Linked DNA regions of Homo sapiens: region 1 is linked to region 2. The links are contacts of gene promoters, found by promoter capture Hi-C in blood cells and fetal thymus (Javierre and others, 2016). All regions are on one chromosome and are shown on one strand. Each heading gives the region's core, a stretch centred on a gene start or on the middle of the fragment in contact. The rest is flanking DNA. Distances are from core to core; before and after follow the strand shown. Region 1 has its middle 60 kb from the start of LINC02948. Region 2 holds the start of DUSP4 (dual specificity phosphatase 4).

Evidence for each region. Contacts are between HindIII fragments. The CHiCAGO score rates a contact against its expected background, and 5 or more counts as called.
Region 1: a contact is called between a fragment that was not itself captured here and the fragment with the promoter of DUSP4 in region 2, in 2 of 17 cell types (non-activated CD4 T cells and M2 macrophages). The highest score is 6.0, in non-activated CD4 T cells.

The regions. Positions count from the first base shown.
Region 1 is chr8:29,619,789-29,624,339 of GRCh38, forward strand. No RefSeq gene overlaps it. Among named protein-coding and RNA genes, the nearest start is that of LINC02948, 60 kb to the left of the region's middle. The HindIII fragment of the contact is 3,731 bases long and covers 1-3,721 here.
Region 2 is chr8:29,347,701-29,352,533 of GRCh38, forward strand. DUSP4 (dual specificity phosphatase 4) reads right to left here and starts at 2,984. Exons shown (of 4, transcript NM_001394.7): 1 at 2,146-2,984. The coding sequence starts at 2,578. It overlaps LOC124901924 (a long non-coding RNA gene), which reads left to right and starts at 3,274. Exons shown (of 2, transcript XR_007060876.1): 1 at 3,274-3,834. RefSeq lists silencers at 1,102-1,271, 2,842-3,161, 3,352-3,491 and enhancers at 1,982-2,483, 2,012-2,161, 2,484-2,983, 3,682-3,751, 3,792-3,901. The HindIII fragment of the contact is 21,736 bases long and covers 1-4,833 here.

The DNA.
Region 1 (4,551 bases), core at 606-3,105, 270 kb after region 2:
AAACCCCACAGTAAATTACAAAATGCTATATGGCTAACAAATGCAAGCATGCTATATGAGGGTTTGATATGAAGAAATAGCTTGGGCAAGGGCTTCTTGCTTTTCAAGCAGGTGTTAAATGCACTAAAGAAATGTTCACCTTCCCATTACTCTACCACCTGCAACTTTTCTCCACAGCATGGGTAGCTGGTGGATGGTCATGAAGAAAGTGTTCATCTTATGAATCTTTCCTTCTGTTTAAAAGTCCATTTCCCTTTTGTAGAAAAATATACAAGGGAGCAAGATGCCATGAGAGTGTTAACAGCCAAAAGTAATGGGCCAGGTGAGCATGGATAAGAAAGCAGGAAGTCCCTAACTGGACTCTCTGTTTTAGTGGTTTTCTGAACTTGAACCAGCTCTTTAAACTTAGATGCTCTGCGAAGCTCTGGGGGTAAAAAAAAAAAAAAAAAAAAAAAGGCAAAATAGTTTTTGCTTTTGTGGAGCTCCTAGTCTGGTAGTAGAGACAGAAATGGAAGCAGAAAATGACATCTAGCTTGATACATCCTATAAGAAAGGAGATACAGTGCAGAGCAAGGGACCAGTGATGACATTGAATTTCACCTTAAAAGTCTGAGGCCGGGCACGGTGGCTCATGCCTGTAATCCCAGCACTTTGGGAGGCTGAGGCGGGAGGATCATGAGGTCAGGAGATCGAGACTATCCTGGCTAACACGGTGAAACCCTGTCTCTACTAAAAATACAAAAAATTAGCCAGGCGTGGTGGCAGGCGCCTGTAGTCCCAGCTACTCGGGAGGCTGAGGCAGGAGAATGACGTGAACCCAGGAGGCAGAGCTTGCAGTGAGCCGAGATAGTGCCACTGCACTCCAGCCTGGGCAATAGAGCAAGACTCCGTCTCAAAAAAAAAAAAAAAAGTCTGAGTGGGGTTTGCCAAGAGGAGTAGGAGAAAGGGATTCCAGGCAGGTGGAGAGTACTGAGCAAAGATAGAGGCACAAATAGGAAAGGGAGGTGGAAGGGAGGGAGCATTGGTTGAATGCGCCGTATGTATCAAATGCTTTGCAAGCGTTATCTCGTTTCATGTTTCCAAGAACCTCAGGAAAGTGGACATCATTCTTCCCGTTTGATAGATGAAGAAACTGAAGTTCAGAGTGGTTACGGTCACAGAGCCTGTCAGTTATGAAGAAATAACTAAGTTTTTCTGATTCAATGTCTTCATTTTTTTCATGACACCTCATCACCCTCCCTCTGCCTGGGTTGGAAAGAGGGTGAGAAATTCAGGGTGGAGGGAGAGAGGTTGGGAAATTGAGATTGGCTGGGAGATCAGCTGGGGTTGTACTGGGAAGGGCCTGGTGAGGCACTCTAAATAATTTGTCATGTATCTGGCAGGCTGTGGGGTATCTAACAGAAGTGTGTGTTTGTGTGTGTGTGTGTGTGTGTGTGTGTGTGAGAGAGAGAGCACACACATGTGCATGTGCTTAACAGAGAAACACCATAATCGCGTTTTAATTTTTTTCCGTTGTTGATTCACATATATGATTCAAAATGCAAAAGGCACAAAAAGGTGCTGAAGGTGTAATTTCCCTCCTGTCCCTGACCCCCAGCCATCTCCAGAGGAGATATGCATCACCCATTCCTTACTTACCTTTTCGGAATGGTCAGTGCATACAGAAGCAGATATATGGGGGTGCTAAAAAGATAATCACACCCTGATATTTTGTGACATAAGAACTTATTTTTGAGGTTGTTTTTATAACTGTTTATAAAATGCTTCCCTATTTTTTTAACAGCTGCATAGTGTTCCATTGATTGTATTTGCTGTCATTTGTTTTTAAAAGATCCATAATGGTAGGCATTTGAGTTATTTCCGTTATAAAAATGCTGCATAAACGTTTGTGTCATTTCACTCATATCCATAAGGGACATTCCCAGAAGTGGAAATGCTGGGGCACTGGGCAGAGGCAGCATTTGTAATTTGCCAAACTGCCCTCCACGGAGGTTGCAATTTCTACTACCGCTAGTGTCTGAAGGCGCCTCTTTCTCAGTCAACATCGTTGCTCACACAGTGGGCTAGAAAACTTCGGATTTTTGCCAATGTTTGGGTGACAAATGCTATTTCAGTGAAGTTTTAATTTTTATTTATTTATTTTTTTGAGGCGGAGTCTCATTTTGTCTCCCAGGCTGGAGTGCGTGCCATGGCGCCATCTCGGCTCACTGCAACCTCCGCCTCCCCGGTTCAAGCGATTCTCCTGTCTCAGCCTCCTGAGTAGCTGGGATTACAGGCGTGTGCCACCACGCCTGGCTCACTTTTATATTTTTCGTAGAGATGAGGTTTCACCATGTTGGCCAGGCTGCTTTTGAACTCGTGACCTCAGGTGATCCACCCGCTTCAGCCTCCCAAAGTGCTGGGATTACAGGCATGAGCCACTGCACCCGGCCCACAGTGAGGTTTTACTTTCAATTACTTTATGAAGCGAAATTGTGTGTCTCTTAAGTTTATTATTTTGTATCCATCTTATGATTTAAAAAATTATCTGCCCATTTTTCTATTTAGTTCTTGATCATTTTTTTCATTTATTTTTAGGAGCTTAAATGTACTACGTATATTTTATAAAGAAAAATAGATAATAGCATTAGTCATGAGGATGGTGTGAGATAGGAATAGGGTGAAGGAGACAAATGGGAAAGGAGAGCCATTTCTGGGTAGAAATGATAGGGTTGATGACTGAGTTAATGTGGTAGGTATGGGGAGAGGGGAGTCAAATATGAGTTTGAAAAATCTAGCTTGGGAGGCTGGCTAAGCAGTGATTTATGAACTAAGATCAGGAAAACCACAGAAGTAGCTTGGGATGATGGGAGCTTGCAAATAATTATTACCTGTATGTGTGTATGTATATACTGTGTGTGTGTGTGTGTGTGTGTGTGTGTATATATATATATGTACATATATCTGTTGTGTAATTATATGTGTACTTATATGTAGTGGTCCCCCACCTTTTTTTTTTTTTTTTTTGAGACGGAGTCTCACTCTGTTGCCCGGGCTGGAGCACAGTGGCACTATCTCAGCTCACTGCGAGCTCCCCCTCCCGGGTTCACACCATTCTCCTGCATCAGCCTCCGAAGTAGCTGGGCCTACAGGCGCCTGCCACCACACCCAGCTAGTTTTTTGTATTTTTTAGTAGAGACAGGGTTTCACAGTGTTCGCTAGGATGTTCTCAATTTCCTGACCTTGTGATCTGCCCGCCTCGGCCTCCCAAAGTGCTGGGATTACATGCGTGAGCCACTGCACCCGTCCAATGGTCCCCAACCTTTTTGGCACCAGGGAACAGTTTCGTGGAAGGCAATTTTTCCAGGGAATGGGGCAGGGGGAGGATGGTTTTGGGGCAATTCAAGTGCATTACATTTATAGTGCCCTTTATTTCTATTATTATTACATTGTAATATATCATGAAATAATGACAAAACTCACCATAATGTAGAATCACTGGGAGCCCTGAGTTTGTTTTCCTGTAACCAGATGGTTCTATCTGGGGGTGATGGGAGACAGTAACAGATCATCAGGCATTAGATTCACATAAGGAGCATGCAACCTAGATCCCTTGAATGTGCAGTTCACAATAGGGTTCACACTCCTATAAGAATCTATTAATAATGCCTCTGCTGATCTGACAGGAGGTAGAGCTTAGGCGGTATTGTGAGCAATGGGGAAATGCTGTAAATACAGATGAAGCTTCACCCACTAGCCCACCGCTCACCTCCTGCTGTTCAGCCTGGTTCCTAACAGGCCACGGACTGGTACTGGTCTGTGGCCCGGGGGTTGGAGACCCCCATGTATATGTATGTATGTATGTGTGTGTATACATATATAAAAGATCTATCTATCTATCTATCTATCTATCTATCTATCTATCTAATATCTTTCCCATATGAAAAAGGATTTGAAGCAGTTTATAAAACACAGACACACTACAAAAGAATAAAATTCATTGAAGAAATTTCGTTGAAGGAAAAATTAGGAAAATGTAACAATAAATCCAGGGGTGAGATTACATCTGGCAATGTGTATTATGCAGTCCTCTGCAGCTGCTAAAGGTAGGCTGTTAATTTGGCCCAAAGCCTCCTGCAGGCCAAAGCTAAGGTGGAAACACACCAGACTGCCAGAGTGACTGTGCAAACAATCACCTCTCTTGGCCTCACCGGACAAATCAGCTGCCATTAGCATTAGTGTCTTCATTCTGCCATTTCTTGCCCTTTAACGACACTCATGCTCCCCTTTGCCCTGTACCAGGAAGTACATCTGGGCATCCCCAGGGAGTGTCATATGAACCTATGAATAAAGCCAGGCCCCTGGGACACTGCCACTCTCTAGTCCAGACAATCCTGCCTGGCCACTGACTTGCCAGTGGGTAGATACCACTCCCAAGGATGGCTCAGGGGCATCTCTTCTGATAGATTGGACTCTGGGGGTACCAGGCCCTCCTGGCTTTCCTGCCAACTCTCTGGCTATGCCTCTTCAGTGCCCACGGGGAATCCTCCTCTTTCTGCCTTCTCTATGGGA
Region 2 (4,833 bases), core at 1,734-4,233:
CAGTGCAGGCTCCAGGAGGAAACAGCCCTTAAAGTACTTCTCTTATGTTGGCCAGGCACCTCGCCACCCACCAGAGGGCTGTCATTTTACCTAGAGGCCTGTACTACCCAGTCACTAGCCTCGCCCAGAATCTCCAGGGCTCTCGAATCGGTCTGGCTGGGGAAATGGAGGAGGTTGGGGAGGGAGGACTCTCAACGGGATTCACGAGGGACAGGGAAATGCCGCGCGCCCTGGGGATAAATCTTAAAAAATAATCCCTCTCTCCCCGGGAGCGGGGCCTAAGTGGCTGCACCCCCGGAAGCCCAAGGGCCGAGGTCCTGGAGCTGCCGCTCTAGGGCGGTCCCCTCGGGATTTCTTCCAGGAAGGAAAGCAAAACACAACAAAACAAATCCAGACTCCACGTGGGGCTGGAACCCAGTCCCAGCCCTGCTGTGTTCTAGCTGGTCCCGGGTTTGGACGCCAGCGAAGGAAGGCGCGCCCGCGCTCTCCATCGGGGGGACTCGAGGGCAGCGCCGTGCGGGGAACATCCCGGCCAGCCCCGGCCATTCGAGGGGACTTGCGTCCCAGAGGAATTGCCCTCATCTCTCCCACCAGCGCCGACAAGCTCAAACAATGGCGCGGACGCCCACCCTGGTGGCCTAACCAGGACCTGGCCCCGCTCAGCCGCCAGGCCTTCCGGGACAAGCCCCTTCCTGGCACTTTCTCTTGGAGCGCTTTGGGGAGAAGGGAGGGGGACTGGGCTCATTTGGAGGAGCAAAAGACAGCCCTCGCGGAAAAAGAAAGAAAAATCAGCAAAATCGCCTTAGCAGTTCAACCAAAGGTCAACAGCAGCGTTTCCCCAGCAGCTGACAGGTCAAATGGGCAGGAAACAACTGCGGGGAACAAAGCCCCCCGCTGTCCGGCAGGGGCGAACCCGGCTCCTCCGCACTGAACAGTTTTGTTGTGCTTTTTGGAGGGGAGAGGTTTCCGCCCCCTTTCCAGCTCCCTTCCTCCCGGGTGGACAGGTCGGAAGAGGAGCGGAAAGGAAAGGAAGGGAGGGAGGCGGCGAAGGCGCCTGCGGGGGGGAGGAGCGGCTCTTTGATGGGTGTGGGGGGGTCTGAACTGCCTACCGGGCTCGGAAGCGCAGACCCTACCCGCGCGGAAGAATGCGCGGAATGCGGCGGCGGGAGGCGGAGGCGCAGCGCGGCGGGGGGCGCCCGGACCCCACGCGCCCTGCCCGCTCCCTAGCCCGAGGGCCGCGGACCCACCCTGCCCTGCAGGTGTGGCGGGCGCCAGGTCCCTCCAGGGACTCGGACAGCACGCGATTTTTCCAGGATTTCCGACTACCAAATGTGACAAGACAGTCTCGCCGCCGAGAGTTTCGCCAGGGCTCGCTAAAATCCGGCACGCGCCGCCATCAGATAGTCGAAAATCCGGGCTGAACAAAAGGTGATCATTCTCCGCTGCCCGGATTTGCAGGCGCTAGAGGACCGGTTCCGCCCGGCGTCCCCCAGATACCCAGTCCTTCAGCCTCCCGCTCCCAGAGCCTGGATCTAGCCCGGGACGGGGATTGGCCACCTTCCAAGCTGAGCTTGGAGTTGGGCAGCGGGAACGCAGATACAGATCGCTCTACACAGTGTGTGCAACCCAATCTCCCTTTCTGCATTTGCCAGGGTCTTGTTTTCAGTGAAACTGGCAAGGCCAATTGTACCTCGGCGCCCACCCCTCTTCACCTTTTCTCCACCTCTGGGATTCTCCCGGTCCGGCTCAGTGTAGGGCCCCAGCACGCCAAACCAACAGGCCTATCTTGTCCCCACGCGCCCCGTGGTACTTGGAAACTGTTCCCGGGACTCAAGATGGACCGCGCAGAGGAGTCGCTTCATCCTCGAGGCTAGGACCGTTAATGTCAATAAACGGGGCCTCGCTAGGACGGTGCGGAATTGCAGGTGACCGGAGAAACCCGTCCGCACTTTCCCTGAGGACTTGAACCTCGCACTTGCACAGAAACCTTGCAAACCCCTACACACCAACACACACAAAGGGGCGCGCGGGGATCCCCGCAACCACGAATCACGCCGGGGACTCCTTCCCGTGCCAATAAGGCGCAGGCCGCCAAGACCCCCTCCATCTCCCCGACTCCAGCTAGCGCCCGGAGCCCTCGTTTACCTTTGAGCAGGCAGATGTCGGTGCGCTCGGCGTTGCGGCGCAGCGCCTGCACCACCAGCGACACGGTGCTGTCCTCGCGGAGGCTCTCGGCGCGCGGGCTGCGCTCGTCGTAGACGATGACCGCCGAGTAGAGGCCGGAGCGCAAGCGGGCGCGTACCTCCTCCTCGGCGGGCAGGATCTGCTCCAGGCTCACGGAGCCCTTAGCCCGCCGCCGCACGATGGTGTTACAGCGCACGTTGACCGAACCTAGGATGTAGCCCGCGCTGTGCGCCAGGAACGGTCTGCAGTCCAGCAGCAGGCACTTGCCGCCGCTCGGCAGCCCCAGGGTGCCGTGGCTGCCGCTGCCGCCCGCGCCGCCGCCATTCTCGTCCCGGTTCATCAGCCTTTTGAGCACACTGCAGTCCATCTCCCGCAGCTCCTCCATCGTCACCATGGTCGCCGGGAACCGAGGCGGCTGGGCGCGCGAGGAAGAGAAGAGAACCCGGGCCGCCTAGGCTGCAGAAAGGGGCGGGCGAGAGCTAAGAAGGGACGCCTGCAGAAGTGGCCGCAAACTTGGTCCTCAAGGGCTCCCGCGGGAGAGCCTCTTCTTCCCTGTCCCCTTCCTCCCGCAGCCTCGCGGTCACATAGCAGTCGGAGCGGCCTCGGGCGCCCAGCCGGGCGGCGCGCAGAGCGGAGGGGGAGGCGCCGGTGGAGGAGAGTGTGTTTACGAGAGAGGACCGCGGACTCTTTTCGGCGACGGCCTCCCGTGTATTTTTGCCGGTCGCGCGGCTCCTGTCGCCACTGGCGCCAGCGCTGCCCTGCCTACGCTCCTCCGGCGCTCAGCGCACTGCCCCAGCCAGAGTTTTCTCCTCGGCTTAGAGGTTTATTAATGCTCCTCCGCGCTCCCGGGGGAGGGGGCGCTAGGTACTACCCCGCCAGGCCCCGCCCCGTTCCATTCCGGGCCCCGCGCCGTCCCCCGCCCCCCGCGCTGTCCCCCGCCCCCCGCGCTGACTCCCCGCCCCCTCCGGGCCCCTCCTCCCACCCCCTCCCCGGAGCTTGAATGGAGCGCGGCCGCTGGCTCCCGGTCACGGGAACTCGACGTCACAAAGAGCGGAGTAAACAGGGCGCCGGGTGCTCGCCATCAGGCCCATTCATAAAACCGAGGCCGAGAGGAAGAGGGAGGCGGCCTCCGACCCGCCGCCAGCGGCGGGCAGCGCCCGGACTTTGTGAATGGAGCGCGCGGCGCCTTTCGCCGTCTACCCGCGGGCCCAGCCTGCGCCGCGCCTCCAGCCCGACACCGGCACCTGTGCCGCCGCTGCACCCCGCCGCTAGGCGGGCGGCGCCAAAGGAAATAGCCGGCTGAGGAGGCCAGGGCTCGGGTTTGAGCTTTCATCCCTTGGCACCTTCGCGCTTCCCCGCGTGACAGCCCCGTAGGTTTTTCCCGGTTACCCAAGTGGAGAGGGGACCGGAGCGCTGCTGCCCACCCAGCGGGGCCTGACACCTCCTAGCCCCAGACTCCCCGTGCGCTTTCGGCCCGGCCAGTCCTTTCTGAATATGCGATTCCTGAGACGTTAGCGTATGCATTAGCGTGATCGATTTTCATCTAAAGCCATTAAATCAGTTTTATAGCTTCCCCAAGAACGTGGGCAACCCCCTGCTTGGAAGATGAAAGAGAAAGTCCTCCCGCCCGAAGCCCAGGATCGGAGTGAGGTGTGGGGTTTGTTGCTTTACTACCCAAAGGGAGGCATTAATTGCCGGAATGGTGTTCCGAGGGAGGAGAGCAGGCTGCGCTCCTGTCCACGCTTCCTAAAAGATGTTTATTTAACCCTGGTCGGGGGAAAAACAAGGTTTTCGGGTTTGGGAAACGTCTTCACCCTATCTTGCATAGTTGTGAATTATCCTTTCAGGAAATGACAGGGTCCACATTTGTTGCGGAGCTGGACCCTGGAAAATGTACCCGCAAAGAATGACCTTTTGAAAGGACTTCAGCAGCTCTGGGTCCGATTCATGTTTCTGGGCATCCCTTTTTCCTGGTCACGTAGCAGCCCTCCCCATCCCCATTTCTCTTTTGCATTTAATTTCCCAGAGGCGGCTTTTGGCTGGGGGTTTGTGCACGCACGCGGTGGGGACCGTGCAGAAGCCAAAAATCATTCGCCCGACATCTTGCCAAGTCTTGTTAGTGAGAATTAATCACAGAGCAAGGGAGTTACAGGACTCGCTCGCAGTTTCGGAGGCTGCAGAGTAGCGTATTCCATTCCGGGGCGCGCGTGGAAGCCCGACCCAGGCAGCGAGGGCACCGGTACCCGCCGGGTCTCTCCCGCCCAAGCTCACCCTCTCCCCATGCCTTTGTTCCGGGCGGAGCGGCTTTCCCGAGCTCTCACCTCCGGTCCCGGGGGCCATCCCTGCACTCCCCGACCGGAGCTCGGCGGAGCCTCCACTTCCGAGACCTTCGACTGGCCTCGTCCCCCACTGGGCCCCGAATGCCTCGACCCCCGGGCCCTACTCGGATGAGCTGTAGGGGCACCGCTTGGGCAAGGTGATATTTCCTTTTGCTCCGGGCTCCAAAATGGCTTACGATGGCACTGCACGGATCCTTTCTCTTTTTAAAATTTAGTATTTTATTCATCATGGATTTTTTGCATTTTTTTTTCTTTTAAAGAGGCATTGCATCAAGATATTTCTTTTGATTACTGACTTTTCGGCGCCCTT